Linked DNA regions of Homo sapiens: regions 2, 3, 4 and 5 are each linked to region 1. The links are contacts of gene promoters, found by promoter capture Hi-C in human tissues and cell types (Jung and others, 2019). All regions are on one chromosome and are shown on one strand. The core of a region is centred on a gene start or on the middle of the fragment in contact, and the rest is flanking DNA. Distances in the headings are between cores, read along the strand shown. Region 1 holds the start of RPL26L1 (ribosomal protein L26 like 1). Region 2 overlaps NEURL1B (neuralized E3 ubiquitin protein ligase 1B). Region 3 holds the start of STC2 (stanniocalcin 2). Region 4 has its middle 15 kb from the start of NKX2-5. Region 5 has its middle 29 kb from the start of NKX2-5.

Evidence for each region. Contacts are between HindIII fragments. The study calls those that stand out against the background at their distance.
Region 2: a fragment that was not itself captured here is called in contact with the fragment with the promoter of RPL26L1 in region 1 in 1 of the 25 tissues and cell types used here (stomach).
Region 3: the fragment with the promoter of STC2 here is called in contact with the fragment with the promoter of RPL26L1 in region 1 in 1 of the 25 tissues and cell types used here (lymphoblastoid cells).
Region 4: a contact is called between a fragment that was not itself captured here and the fragment with the promoter of RPL26L1 in region 1, in 1 of the 25 tissues and cell types used here (lymphoblastoid cells).
Region 5: a fragment that was not itself captured here is called in contact with the fragment with the promoter of RPL26L1 in region 1 in 1 of the 25 tissues and cell types used here (mesendoderm cells).

Annotation. Positions count from the first base shown.
Region 1 is chr5:172,958,087-172,960,786 of GRCh38, reverse strand. It overlaps RPL26L1 (ribosomal protein L26 like 1), which reads right to left and starts at 1,363. Exons shown (of 4, transcript NM_016093.4): 1 at 1,319-1,363; 2 at 746-922. The coding sequence starts at 913. It overlaps RPL26L1-AS1 (RPL26L1 antisense RNA 1), which reads left to right and starts at 1,419. Exons shown (of 4, transcript NR_026682.1): 1 at 1,419-1,497; 2 at 2,530-2,648. The HindIII fragment of the contact is 17,043 bases long and covers 1-2,700 here.
Region 2 is chr5:172,677,829-172,680,528 of GRCh38, reverse strand. All of the region lies in intron 2 of NEURL1B (neuralized E3 ubiquitin protein ligase 1B), which reads right to left. Among named protein-coding and RNA genes, the nearest start is that of MIR5003, 17 kb to the right of the region's middle. RefSeq lists an enhancer at 2,367-2,700. The HindIII fragment of the contact is 3,003 bases long and covers 1-2,700 here.
Region 3 is chr5:173,327,136-173,329,835 of GRCh38, reverse strand. STC2 (stanniocalcin 2) reads left to right here and starts at 1,422. Exons shown (of 4, transcript NM_003714.3): 1 at 1,422-1,793. The coding sequence starts at 1,643. It overlaps LOC124901137 (a long non-coding RNA gene), which reads right to left and starts at 1,237. Exons shown (of 2, transcript XR_007059056.1): 1 at 85-1,237. RefSeq lists a silencer at 9-228. The HindIII fragment of the contact is 8,569 bases long and covers 1-2,700 here.
Region 4 is chr5:173,219,256-173,221,955 of GRCh38, reverse strand. No RefSeq gene overlaps it. Among named protein-coding and RNA genes, the nearest start is that of NKX2-5, 15 kb to the left of the region's middle. The HindIII fragment of the contact is 5,980 bases long and covers 1-2,700 here.
Region 5 is chr5:173,262,849-173,265,548 of GRCh38, reverse strand. No RefSeq gene overlaps it. Among named protein-coding and RNA genes, the nearest start is that of NKX2-5, 29 kb to the right of the region's middle. RefSeq lists an enhancer at 1-351. The HindIII fragment of the contact is 6,740 bases long and covers 1-2,700 here.

The DNA.
Region 1 (2,700 bases), core at 114-2,613:
TCCATAAATATTCCTTTGAGGAATGAATCTAGCCCCTGCTTATTTCACTCATATCCAACTCCCTTCCCTCCTCTCATGCATTCTAAGCTCCAATCACAGAGAACAGAGGGCTTGTACGTTCTCACATGGGCCAGTCTTTTAGAAATTATGAAAGAGTGACTCGCTGCATCTTTACCAGTTCTCCTGCCAAATCCAATGCTATCACATGGCCAGCTCCCACAAATCTCTGTCCATCAATCCCACTACACCCAAATACACTAAAACACTACTCTCACTGCAGCACCTTCCCCTACAGTCTGGTTCAACAAGCCACCCTGGGCAACAACACTTGGCAAACTAGCAGCCAGAAGGTTAAATCAAAAGTATTTTTGGTGGGGCACGGTGGCTCACACTTGTAATCCCAGTGCTTTGGGAGGCTGAGGTGGGAGGATCACTTGAGGCCAGGAGTTCAGAGACCAGCCTGGGCAACATAGCAAGACCCTATCTCTACAAAACAAACAAAAAAGCAGGTTTTTGCTTGGTTGACATACTGTTTTATTAAATTTTACTATTACTATTAAATAATTAAATGCTCTAAAGCAACGCAGGCACTCTCTGGTGGCTCTGAACCCTATCTCTGGCCTAACACATCTGAAGGGTCACACTACTTTCCAGAGTCCTGAGGCATGTGAGTCTGTGACTGCTCCACGCATGACGTTCTTAGGCAACGGTGTCCGAGCGCCACTAGCGCCGGAGGGAGACGTACCTGGACCTCGTCGTCCTTGCGGATGGGCATGGAGCGGACATTGTACTTCTGCCGCAGCTCCTTGGAGAGCGGGGATGACATGATCTTCCTGCGCACGTGTGAGGGGGCATTGAAGTGACGTTTGCGGTTTTTACTGCGGTCCGAGGTAACGAAGGGATTGAACTTCATGGTGACCCTCTACAAAGGGCGGAGAGAGACGGAATGAAGGGGCGCTCAGTGGGTTACAGGGGCCTGTTCTCGACCCAAGACACTCCTCATCCCCCAACAAAGGCTCTACAGGGGAGGTAGCCTCTGAAAAGGCAACTGAGGGAGGACAGAGAGATGCGACTAGTCTGACTATCACATAAAGTGAGGCGTGTGTGGAGGTCGCATGCCCGTCTAAAGGGGTCGTGGGGGAGAGGGTAGCACTGGGACCTTGAGGCTGAGGAAGGAATGCTAGGGTTAGGCAGGAATGGGTGGTCGGGAGGTCACTCAAAGAGAGCTGTGGGGTGACATGTGTTCCCGCGACACATAGGGCAGGGTCTCACGGGGCGGTAGAGTTCACTGTCCGAGAAAACTCCAGCCTCCACTCACCCGGCTACTAGCTGCCTCAGACCCTGAGTGCGCAGGGCCGGAAGTGAGTTTCCGTGCCGCGCAAGCGCAGAAAGACATCGAAGCCCCATTTCCGTAGGAGCGAAGTCGAATGGCGCCCCCAGCGGCTTGGGGTGGGATCTCAGTGCCTCATTCCTGGCGGCCCCGGGAGGGCGATGCCAGTGAGTACAAGGGCCTGCTTGTGTAGGGCCTGCGGTAGAGGCTTACTGGTGTTCTTTTTTTTTTTTTTGAGACGGAGTCTCGCTCTGTCGCCCAGACTGGAGTGCAGTGGCGCGAGCTCGGCTCACTGCAAGCTCCGCCTCCCGGGTTCACGCCATTCTCCTGCCTCAGCCTCCCGAGTAGCTGGGACTACAGGCGCCCCCCACCACGCCCGGCTAATTTTTTGTATTTTTAGTAGAGACGGGGTTTCACCCTGTTAGCCAGGATGGTCTCGATTTCCTGACCTCGTGATCCGCCCGCCTCGGCCTTCCAAAGTGCTGGGATTACAGGCGTGAGCCGCCGCGCCCTCCTACCTCTACTTTTTTCTATCTCTGGGACTAAACGGCGGCCGGCGGCGTGCCTGCGGGTTTGTGGCCGCCGCCCCGCCCCTCTCTCCTAGACCCCGCCCCTCTCATCCAGTCCCCGCCCACTCCGGCCGCTCCGCGCCCACCTGTGGCCCTCTTGGCCCTTCTGCCCGTGCCTGGCCCCGCCGGGTCGCTCCCGAGCTCCGCGTTTCGTTCGCCGACCCCTGGAAGACTGCCTGGAGGCCCGGGCGCCACCCAACCACTGGCTAGGCCGACACTTTGCGCGGACCCTGGGTGTAAAAGGTCCCCGGGTCTCTGGTCCCGACGGAGCTGTGAGGGAGATCAACCACGCCCCCTCCGTGGGCACCGTGGCGGCAGGGAAGGAAAAGGGCTCTGGGTCTCGACTCTCTTCGGGTTAAGAACCGACGGGGTTTATTCTATGCAAGGTGTTATTAACTCCAACTCTCCCTTTCGTTCATTCATTCCATATATGTTGAACGACAACTTAGTGCCAAATGCCGGCATGCTGAAACTCAGAGAGGGAAGATGTCTTGCAAGTACAGCAGCCACACCCAGGCAGGTCCCGTGCTCTCTCTTAGTTTATCAGTGTTCCCTGACATGTAGTGGTGACATTGTTAAACACCTGCGTTTACTAATACTAGATTTTTTTTTTTTTTTTTTTTGAGATAGAGTTTCGCTCTTGTTCCCTGGGCTGCAGTGCAGTGGCACCATCTCGGCTCACCGCAACCTCCGCCTCCCAAGTTCAAGCGATTCTCCTGCCTCAGCCTCCCCAGTATCTGGGATTACAGGTATGCGCCACCACGCCCGGCTAATTTTGTATTTTTAGTAGAGACGGGGTTT
Region 2 (2,700 bases), core at 115-2,614, 280 kb after region 1:
CGTGTTTCTGGAAGTGTCGGTGCAATGCACTTTTCCCAGGCTCCCTGCCCCACTCACAGTCGCCCGCCCCTAAAGGCGCTGGCCTTACTTGCCCTGCTCCTTCCCCCCCGCCAACTCTCCTCCTCTTGTCCCCCAGCGGCTCCACACAGGAGCCCATCAGTGCAGCATCCTTATTAAGAGCATGGCCTATGGAGACAGGCGGACTTAGATTCAAGTCCTGGCTTTGGCTTTTACTGGCTATGTGACCTCAGGTATGCCATTTCACCTCCCAGAGCCTCAGCTCCCTCAGCATAACATAGAGTGATAGAGTGATAGTGGTAAACACCCCCATGTTATGGAAATTACTGTCATGAAGAGTAATACAGAGCATGGCACTAAGTGCTCAAAACATTAATTATGATCATAAAAACGTATAGAGCACTCACTGTGGGCCCAGCGCTGCTGTGTGCTGGGTGAACAGAGGTGAACACACAGGCGTGGCTCCTGTGCTTATGGAATTCCCTTTCAAGTGGGAGATAAAGGCTCTACGAAGCCATCTTACAGAAAACTGGGCCAAGTGCCACCAAGAGCCTCTGTCCTATGTGGGGAAGTGTCAGTGGGGGAACTCTGAGGCTCCAAGAGGTCACACAGCTGGGGAGTGACAGAGCTGGGATTCTCTGAGGGTGTATAAAGGGGGACTAAGGCCAGAAAAGGCCTCCCTGACTGATCAACAGGCTGCGACCTGGAGATAAGGGATCTGTGGCCGGGCAGGTTCTCCAGGCACAGAGAACAGCACATGTGAAGGCACTGAGGTGCTGGAAGCTTGGCGTGTCTACAAGGCTGGGTTATAATGAATGTGACATTGTGCTGGGTACCTGGCACACGGCAGCCCCTCAGAAAAGGTTGCATGGCCTCACTTATTCTTTGTGGAAGGAGCTTTGTTCCTCTTGGGCATGGGCCCTGATTGAGACAGGCCCAAGACAGCACAGCGCCAGCCTAGGCCAGACACTTCAGAATGCATTGCTCAAAGGGGCATTTCTTCTAAGGAGAACCAGTCGGCTATAGGCAGAAATCCAGCAACATCAAGAGGCACCGAGGGAGCGTGTCGAGACTGCCCAGCTTCTACCGGTGGCTGAAACAAGTACACACATAACCACGTTCTCGAGCGCCTGCTAGACGCAGCTCCATACCCTGATGGTCCCCTTTGGTCCTCACCACTATCTTATGTGGCTCTGTAAAATGGGCACATTTCACAGTGGGAGAACACTGAGGCGCTGAGAGGTGGAGTGAGTTACTGAAGGTCACATAGCCTGGGGGTGACAGACAGGATTCCAGCCCAGGCTTTGACTCCAGAGCAAGGCCCCTGGCTAGCAATACTGCCTCCCAATGCTGCTGTTGTCGTTCAGCTCTGAGAGCAGCCCAGCACCGGGACTTGGCCTCCGGCCAAAGTTGGAGTTTCAGTCTCCACGGGCCTAATGTCCCCGCCTCCCTGCCATGAATAGCCACTGAGTACCAACACACTGCAGCAGTCCCCAGTCAGGTACGAGGAGGCTGGGACAGGCCCCTGACCTCCCACTCTCCCAAGCCACTTCCAGGGCCTAGCTCTTCCCTTTTTCCCCTCCCCTTTCTCTCTTAGGTCCAATATATCTGGGCTGGAAGTAAAGCAAAATGTATGTCTCAAATGAAACCATCTTGGTGTAGACACGAAAATGAAGGCAGGGACAACTGGGGACAGAGAAACATATCCATCAATCACCACTCTGTGGGACTGACTCGGGCCATGTACTAGAGGCAGAAATGACAGGACTCACTGACAGAATGGATCCAAGGCAAGGAAAAGAGGAATCGAGAATGACACCGGGTTACTGGCCAACCAAGGGGGTGGTGTCACTTACTGCCAATGGCCAACCAAGGGGGTGGTGTCACTTACTGCCAATGGCCAACCAAGGGGGTGGTGTCACTTACTGCCAATGGCCAACCAAGGGGGTGGTGTCACTTACTGCCAATGGCCAACCAAGGGGGTGGTGCTACTTATTGCCAATGGGGCTGGCTGAGGAGCAGGAGGTGGGGGATTCAAGAGTTGTGTCCGAGCATGTTCAGTGTGGGATGCCCCTCAGATGTAGGAGGAGAGGCTGGATAGGTGGTGGGAGGCCTGGGGTTCAAGGGAGGTGTCAGGGCTGGGAAGATGGGTTTGGGAGTCAACAGTCTAGATGTGAAGCCCAATGATGGGCTCAGATAACTTGGAGAAAGAGGGCAGACAGACACAGGCTTGTTTTATGACAATCTGTTGAATGCTACAGTTGTTCTTAGATGCCTTCCTATATGCATATTGTATTACACAATTTAAGAAAGTAAAAAGGAAAGAGTGGGCCCAGGATAGAACCATGGGGCTTTCAACATAGGGAGGACAGGTAGGGCGAGGGGTGGCCAGGAAAGCAGGAGGAACGGCGGGAGCTCGGGAAGGCCCAGGAGCCACAAGCAGCAACATTCACACAGCCGGGAGAGGTCACCTGGGCTGAAAGCGAGGGGCCCGGTAGTGGGCCCAGGATGTAGGCTCAGGGTCTGACAGGCTGAAGGTCAGTGATGGGCAGGGACTCACGCCTCAGGGCACAGCTTAAGAGGGAAAAGGAGAGGGTGGCATAACCAGCACTTAAGAAAGACCTGCCCTGAGGGAGGGAGGGCAGAGAGACAGGACTGTGGCTGGTGAGGGGGCTGATGGAG
Region 3 (2,700 bases), core at 173-2,672, 370 kb before region 1:
AAACTTCCCAGGCGCATTACCGCAGAGGGCGCGGGCGGGGCGCGGGGCGGGGGTGGGGGATCGAGAGCTGGTACCGGGGCTCACCTGTTCTCCAGGAGGAGGGTGGGGACGGGGGGAGGGGCGAGTGCGCGCCAACGCCGGGTGCGTGCCCTGGGGCGCTTGGGCGCGGCGCTCGTGTCCCCGCCCTCCCCCAGCCCTGCGAGCCCCCCGAGCTGCGCCGTGGGGTGACGGGACCGAGAGCAGTTCCTGTCCCCGGCCCCGGCGCGGGGGAGACGTGAGCGTGCACACGTACACACACAGCAGGGGAAGAGGCGCTCCAAGCGGCGCCCAACTTTCTCCTTCCCTCCACGGGCCGGGTGAGAAAGTAGCCGGGGGCTATCCCGACCCGGCGGTTCTTGGGGAGGGGGCCGAACAAGAAAAGGGAGGAGATGGAGATAACTTCCCCGGATTTAGCTTTTTTGTCTTTGTTTTTGTTCTCACCACTTCCATCGGATGACTGGAGAGTAAAAGGGAACCCGGAGCGGGGTGGCGAGCAGCGCTTTGAGAAAATGCAGGAGTGTGTTTGGAGACGCGTAAAGTTGCCTTTCAAGCTCTGGCCTCCGGGCACGCGATGCTCCGCGGCGGGCTGACTCAGGGCTGCCTTGGGCCTCCCTGCCACCCTCCTGGAAATGATGCAAGTCCTGACTGTCACCTGGATCCCTGCAGCCCAGCCTGGAATGCGTCTGGATTAGGGGAAAGACGAGAAACGACACTCCAGGTGTTGCACGGCCCACCAAAGCGGGAAGATAGGGCAGTTGCTCAGACCAAATACTGTATCTAGTGCTTCTGCTCCTATCTTCAATCGTGGGGTTCTTTTTAATGCAAAGTGTCACAAGGCCAGGAATTCCCATGTGTGCTCAGTTGGCCCACAGCATCATTGTGCCTAGGAAACTGCTTCAATTTATCAAGTCCTCTGGGCTGGGAATCTCACTGAATTCCAAACGGCGGAAAGAGGAAACTTTCCCAACCCGATGTGGGTGTGACGCGAGCCAGGGGCCCCAGGGACACTGTCCCAGAGCACACCGTCCCCCTTTAACAGCAACTGGAGCTTGGATTCGCTCTTATATTGTACAGTCCTTTCGACCATTGCCCTGGAGCACCCGCACACGCGCACGCATCTCCGGCCGCGCTCACACACACTCATACACACGCACGCAAACGCGTGGCCGCCGCCAGGTCGGCAACTTTGTCCGGCGCTCCCAGCGGCGCTCGGCTTCCTCCTGTAGTAGTTGAGCGCAGGCCCCGCCTCCCGGCCGTGTTGTCAAAAGGGCCGGGGTCTCGGATTGGTCCAGCCGCCGGGACAACACCTGCTCGACTCCTTCATTCAAGTGACACCAGAGCTTCCAGGGATATTTGAGGCACCATCCCTGCCATTGCCGGGCACTCGCGGCGCTGCTAACGGCCTGGTCACATGCTCTCCGGAGAGCTACGGGAGGGCGCTGGGTAACCTCTATCCGAGCCGCGGCCGCGAGGAGGAGGGAAAAGGCGAGCAAAAAGGAAGAGTGGGAGGAGGAGGGGAAGCGGCGAAGGAGGAAGAGGAGGAGGAGGAAGAGGGGAGCACAAAGGATCCAGGTCTCCCGACGGGAGGTTAATACCAAGAACCATGTGTGCCGAGCGGCTGGGCCAGTTCATGACCCTGGCTTTGGTGTTGGCCACCTTTGACCCGGCGCGGGGGACCGACGCCACCAACCCACCCGAGGGTCCCCAAGACAGGAGCTCCCAGCAGAAAGGCCGCCTGTCCCTGCAGAATACAGGTAAGTGCATGTGCCCCCGCAGCCGGGAGCTACTGGGAGAGGACACCGTGCACCCACGCGGCGCGCCCCAGGCGTTTCGCCGGGAGCCAGGCGCCCACCCAGGGCCACGCAAACTCTTGGGATGGCACGGGACGTGCAAAGGGAAGCGCGAGGCAAGGCGAGGTCCGCGCCGGGCTCCGAGGGCCCGGAATCTGCACGTGCTAGCAGGGTGATGAAATGGCTGGGGCAGGACTTGTTGCTGTCCTCCCCAGGGTCGAGGGGAAATGAAGCAGCGTCTGACGCTGCCAGCGCCAGCCCCCGCCCCCGAATCCCGGGTCCGGTGCAAAGCGCGCTTCATCCCGGCCGGCACGCGGGAGGCCCAGAGGGTCCCCGGAGCTGGGCTGCGCCCTGCGCCCGGAGAACTTCTCTTCCTGGCCTGCCGGCCTCAGTAAGGGTGCCGCGTCTTCCCCCTCCTCAAAAGATGCCCGACATCCCAGAACTTTGCCGGCGAGACAAATGGCATTGCGAACTTTCCCCCTGGGGGCACTGCTTTCGGAAGGGAGCGTGAGGGCAGCGCAAAGCGTACCTCCGCGGTGCTGCCGCCATCCCCAGCTCCTGGCCAGGTCAGCAAGCCAAGAAATGGTGACACGACCCGAACCGTGCGCCTCCTCTGCTCTACCGGCTCTTGGCTCACCGGCAAGCTGCAAAGCAGAGCCAGGCGTGCAGGGCACGGGGCTGGCCCTTTTCCCAGCTCGGAAAGAGAAAGAAAATCTGCCTACAGCTCCTTCGCTCCACGACCCCTCCCCCGACTTTGGGGGGCCGTGTGAACGCGGCAGCGGCGGCGTGCGTGCGCTCACCGCACGAGCTGGAATGCACGAGTGCCCATTAGGGACGCCCCAAGTGAGTGAATGGCGGCCCTGTGCGGTCC
Region 4 (2,700 bases), core at 172-2,671, 260 kb before region 1:
GTGATTCGCCCGCCTCCGCCTCCCAAAGTGCTGGGATTACAGGCATGAGCCACCATGCCTGGCCGTATTTCACAATTTTAACATGCACTTCCAAAATTAATCATGGACTTTCACTACTTCACTTAGAATCAGAAGGCTCCACTTAAGATATATACATGCACGCATACATACATATATATATATGTACACACACACACACACACACACACACATATATATAAACATTTTAAACAAGGTCTTGCTGCCACCCAGGCTGGAATGCAGTGGTGCAATCATAGCTCACTGCAGCTTCAAACTCGTGGGCACAAGCAATCCTATGTCAGCCTCCTGAGTAGCTACTACTACAGGTGCTTACCACCACACCAGCTAATTTTTAAATTTTTGTAGAGATGAGATCTCGCTTTGTTGCCCAGGCTGGTCTAGAACTCCTGAGCCCAAGCGATCTGCCCGCCTCGGCCTCCCAAAGTGCTGGGAGTACAGGAATGAGCAGCAATATAACATTGTCAGAAAAAATTATGACCCTTGTGCCTAAACAACTCATAATTCATTTTTCTCCCTTTCAAAAGTTAGTACAGAAACGCATTTATAACCAAATTTATGAGATTAAATAAGCACATTTTCATCATTTACTCAAATGTTCATCCTTGTTTTCAGTAGATTCAGATGACCTGGAATTCCCCACCCCAAGCCCACCCACCCATTGTCTTCTGAAAACAATCACTTCCAGCTTGTGAAATAGTAAAATTTCACTAGGTCAAAGGTTCTCAAACATTTTGGTCTCAGGAAGCTTTTATATTTTTTAACAATTATTGAGGGCCTGGAGTGGTGGCTCATGCCTATAATCACAGCACTTTGGGAGGCCGAGGTGGGAGGATCACTTGAGGCCAGGGGTTCAAGACCCACCTGACCAACATGGCAAAACTTGGTCTCTAATAAAAATACAAAAATTAGCCGGGTGTGATGGCACATACCTGTGATCTCAGCTACTCAGGAGGCTGAGGCAGGATAATTGCTTGAACGCTGGAGGTGGAGGTTTCAGTGAGCCAAGATTGCATGACTGCACTCCAGCTGGGTGATAGAGGGAGACTGTCTCAAAAAAATAAATAAATCATAATAGGCCAGGCATGGTGGCTCACACCTGTAATCCCAGCATTTTGGGAGGCTGAGGCCGGCGGATCACCTGATGTCAAGAATTCGAGAGCAGCCTGGGCAACATGGCAAACCCTTGTCTCTACTAAAAATACAAAAATTAGCCAGGCGTGGTGGTGCACACCTGTAATCCCAGCTACTCGGGAGGCTGAGGCAGGAGCATCACTTGAACCCAGGAGGCAGAAGTTGCAATGAGCCGAGATTGCACCACTGCACTCCAGCCTGGGTGACAGAGCAAGACTCTGTCTCAAAAATAAAAATAAAAAATTATTGACAACCCCAAAGAGCTTTTGTTTAGGTGGGTTATATCTCTTGAGATTGATCATGTTAGAAATTAAAAAGTGAGAATTTTGTAAACATTAATATTAATGTTTATTAATATGCATTATTAATACTAATCAATTTGTGACTAGTTACTAATTCATTTCAAAATTATAATACACTCATTACATGAGCTCTGAAATGAAGAATGAATGAGAAGCAAAGATAGATGTAAATAAGTAAGCAAATGTAAGCAAATCCTGACTATAAAGTGTAGGGTTTAAAAAGGGGGAAGCTGGCCAGGCACAGTGGCTCATGCCTGTAATCCCAACACTTTGGGAGGCCGAGGCAGGAGGATCCCTTGAGCTCAAGGAGTTTGACACCAGCCTGGACAACATGGCAAAACCCTGTCTCTACAAAAAATACAAAAATTAGTAGGATGTGGTGGCGTGCACCTGCACTCCCAGCTACTCGGGAGGCTGAGGTGAGAGGATCACCTGAGCCTGGGAGGTAGAGGCTGCAGTGAGCAGTTCACTCCAGCCTGGGTGACAGAGTGAGATCCTGTCTCAAAAAAAAAAAAAAAAAAAAAAAAAAAGGCAGGGGTTGCAGAAAGCTAGAATTAAAATACCAGACAACAATAACTTCTAAGTCAGGAGGAATTAAATGGAGTTAAAGTGTGTTAGTTTCCAGAAAGAGGGTGGAGGTTTTGAATCATTGTAGATTTTTCCAGCAAGGCTGTATTTCTTGACCTGGCTGGCTGTTATATGGGTGTTACTTTATTACTAAGTAAAACCGTGAATATGTGTTTTTAGTAAGTAAAACTGTGACTGTGTGTTTTATGCCTCATGCTGTATGTATAGCTAACAGTTAAAAATATGCTTTGAAATTTTTCACAAAACGTCAAAGGAAATGTCAAAGGACATACAGTGACAAATCAAAGGATATACAGCGACAAGGTATCCAGAGATACCTTACGCACAAACAAGCAAACAACTACTTCTTTTCTTACCCTTTCTACATAAGTGGTAGATTTTCATCTTACTGTTTTTGCATCTTGCCTTTTTTTACTTAATTTTATTTCTGGAGATTGTTCCATATTAGTTTCTAAAGGAAGTCTCATTCTTTTTATTATACCTACATACTATTTCACTGCATGGATGTACTATAATTTGTTTAACTAGTTCCTGTTAAAACTATTTCCATTTTGTCTTACAAACGATGCTGCGATGAAAAACTTTATTGTCATTTTGTATAATTACAAGTACATTTATGTAACAGATTATGATTTTT
Region 5 (2,700 bases), core at 166-2,665, 300 kb before region 1:
GCGCAGTTCACAAAGGCCAAAACAAGTGTGAGCCCCAGAGGGGCCCCTGCCAGGTGGCAGGCTGAGCTGCCCAGGGAGGTCAAGGTTTGGAGGTTTTCTTTTAACCAAGTCCAGGGATCCTCACTGCTGCACACTGTGGGGTCTGCTCACGGAAAGTTATTAGACACAAAAACTAAAGAAAAAGAACTAACCCGGGGACGCTTCCTGAAATGCAATTATGGGGGAAAAGAAATGAGAAAAAGTACGATAAAAACTCACCTGATCATCCAGATTCAAGATTTGACTTGCAGAATGGTGTACCATTAACCTGCCTGATGTTTAGAAAGCAACAAAAGAGACCACCTGATGCAAATTGCTCTGGGCACCTGCACCCTGGGGCTGGGAGTCAACAAGGGCCCTCCTTCCCACAGGGCTCAGATGCCTTGGGAAATCTAGGGTGTAGGACCTGGGCTTTAGCACCTCACATTTACACTGGGTTCCAGGTTTCCATGTAGCTTATCCCATTTGCTCCTGCAATAATCCAGGAGGCAGGTAAGCCCAGTGTTAACAATCTAATTTGACAAATGAAGAAAGAAAAGCACATGTGACCCAAAGTTTTTTTTTTTTTTTTTTTTTGAGACAGAATCTCGCTCTATCGCCCAGGCTGCAGTGCAGTGGTGCCATCTTGGCTCACTGCAACCTCCGTTTCCTGGGTTCAAGCAGTTCTCCCTGCCTCAGCCTCCCGTGTAGCTGGGATTACAGGCGCCTGCCACCACACCTGGCTAATTTTTGTATTTTTAGTAGAGACAGGGTTTTACCATGTTGGCCAGGCTGGTCTCGAACTCCTGACCTCAAGTGACCCGCCCACCTCGGCCTCCCAAAGTGCTGGGATTACAGGGGTGAGCCACCGTGCCCAACCTCAACCCAAGGTCGTAGAAGTAATTAGTTACCATGCTGAGACTAGAACTAATAAAATCTGGAAGGGTGAACTCCCATTATCAGTAATAGCAAAGTACGTAATTCAGACTGCCCTCCATTCCACTGAGGACAACTGGGAATGCTGCAGAATAAGTAAATCCTAAATCAGACAAATGGGAAAAAAATCACGAAATGTCTTGGAATACATAATGAAGAGGGATATTGTCAAGCCCTCTCTGTTACTTTGCCCAGCACATTTAGAATTGAGGGTTATTAATCGATTCAAAGTAAATAATGAAATTAACCTGCCCTTCATCTCAATAAATGTAAAATAATAAGCCAGGAGTGGTGGCACACACCTGTAGTCCCAGCTACATGGGAGGCTGAGGCACGAGGATCACTTAAGCCTAGGAGTTCAAGGCTGCAGTGCACTAGAAGGGCACCTTTGAATAGTCAGTGCACTCCAGGCAGGGCAACAGAGCAAGACCCTGTCTGTAAAAGAATAAAATAAATGTAAAATAATTTATGATGATGGTGATTCTTAAATGATGATCACTTTGTCTCAGGTGTAAGGATTTGTCACTAAAGCATACAAAAGTAAAATAAACTGAAAGAAAAATCTGTATAGACTGTGAGAATTTTATTGGTCAGATGAAATGAAAAAGATTATCAGCTTATTTTGCTGCTGTTTATAAGCATCTGTTGTACGCTTTTAATAAATTTGATAATTATTCAAAATAAAAAAAAAAACCGAACTGCTTAAAGACACCAGAGAGCTACAAAATAGTGAAGAATAACCAGCCAGGACCCAAAGGAAGGAGGAAGCCGTGCGAAGTGAGTCTGTCCTTTGAGCTACCCTGGGCCTGGCAGCGTGGGCCAATTCTACCATGGCTGGCAGAGAGGCTGGGTGGACTTTCAAGAGCCTCACGGGGCTAAAGGGGCAGGGACGAATGTGAAGCTTACCAAGATTAGAGTTGAGATTCATCTTGAACTGGGATTCTAAAGGGAAGCTCCCTACAAGTAAATGTGACCCAGAAGCAGACAGGCCCTTGCAGAGACCATGGCTCCACTTCAGGTATTCTAAACCCCCGAAATTAGATTTCAGTAAACCTAAATTGTCGGTGCCCCAGGAGCCTAGCAGAGACAAACATAAATCTTCTTAGGAGGAAAATATCATCATCTGAAGCCTATAATTAGTTCTGCAAGCAATTTTTCAAATGCAATGTCCAAAACACAGTAAAAAATAATAAGCAAATAAATAAGACACAAAGAATACAAAGCAGTATTTTTTAAAGAAAGAAAAATTAAATATAGAAAAATCAACTAATAATAAAGAGGCTGGGCATGGTGGCTCATACCCATAATCCCAGCACTTTGGGAGGCAAGAGGATTGCTTGAGCCCAGGAGTTTGAGGCCAACACTAGTCAGAGTTCATACACAGTCATTTCTACAATACACTATTGGTTACCAGGTCAGTCCTACTCACTGTTGGAGGGGAGTAGGAGCTTCAGTTCTCCATGTGGCCTCCTATCCTTCCAGAATATCAGGAATTGAGAATCACCAAGGTCCGTCTTGGAAGCTGGCTACCACAGGTGGCCAGAGTGGAACTGAATTTTTTCTCACACTCCAGTAGATGGAACAAAATAGCAATGCTGAGAGAGGAAGTACAGAAATGGAAATTAGCTGGGCATGGTGGCACTTAGTCCCACCTACTTGGGAGACTGAGGTAGGAGGATCACTTGAACCCAGGAGGTCCAGGCTGCAGTGAGCCATGATTGCACCAATACACTCCAGCCTGGGTGA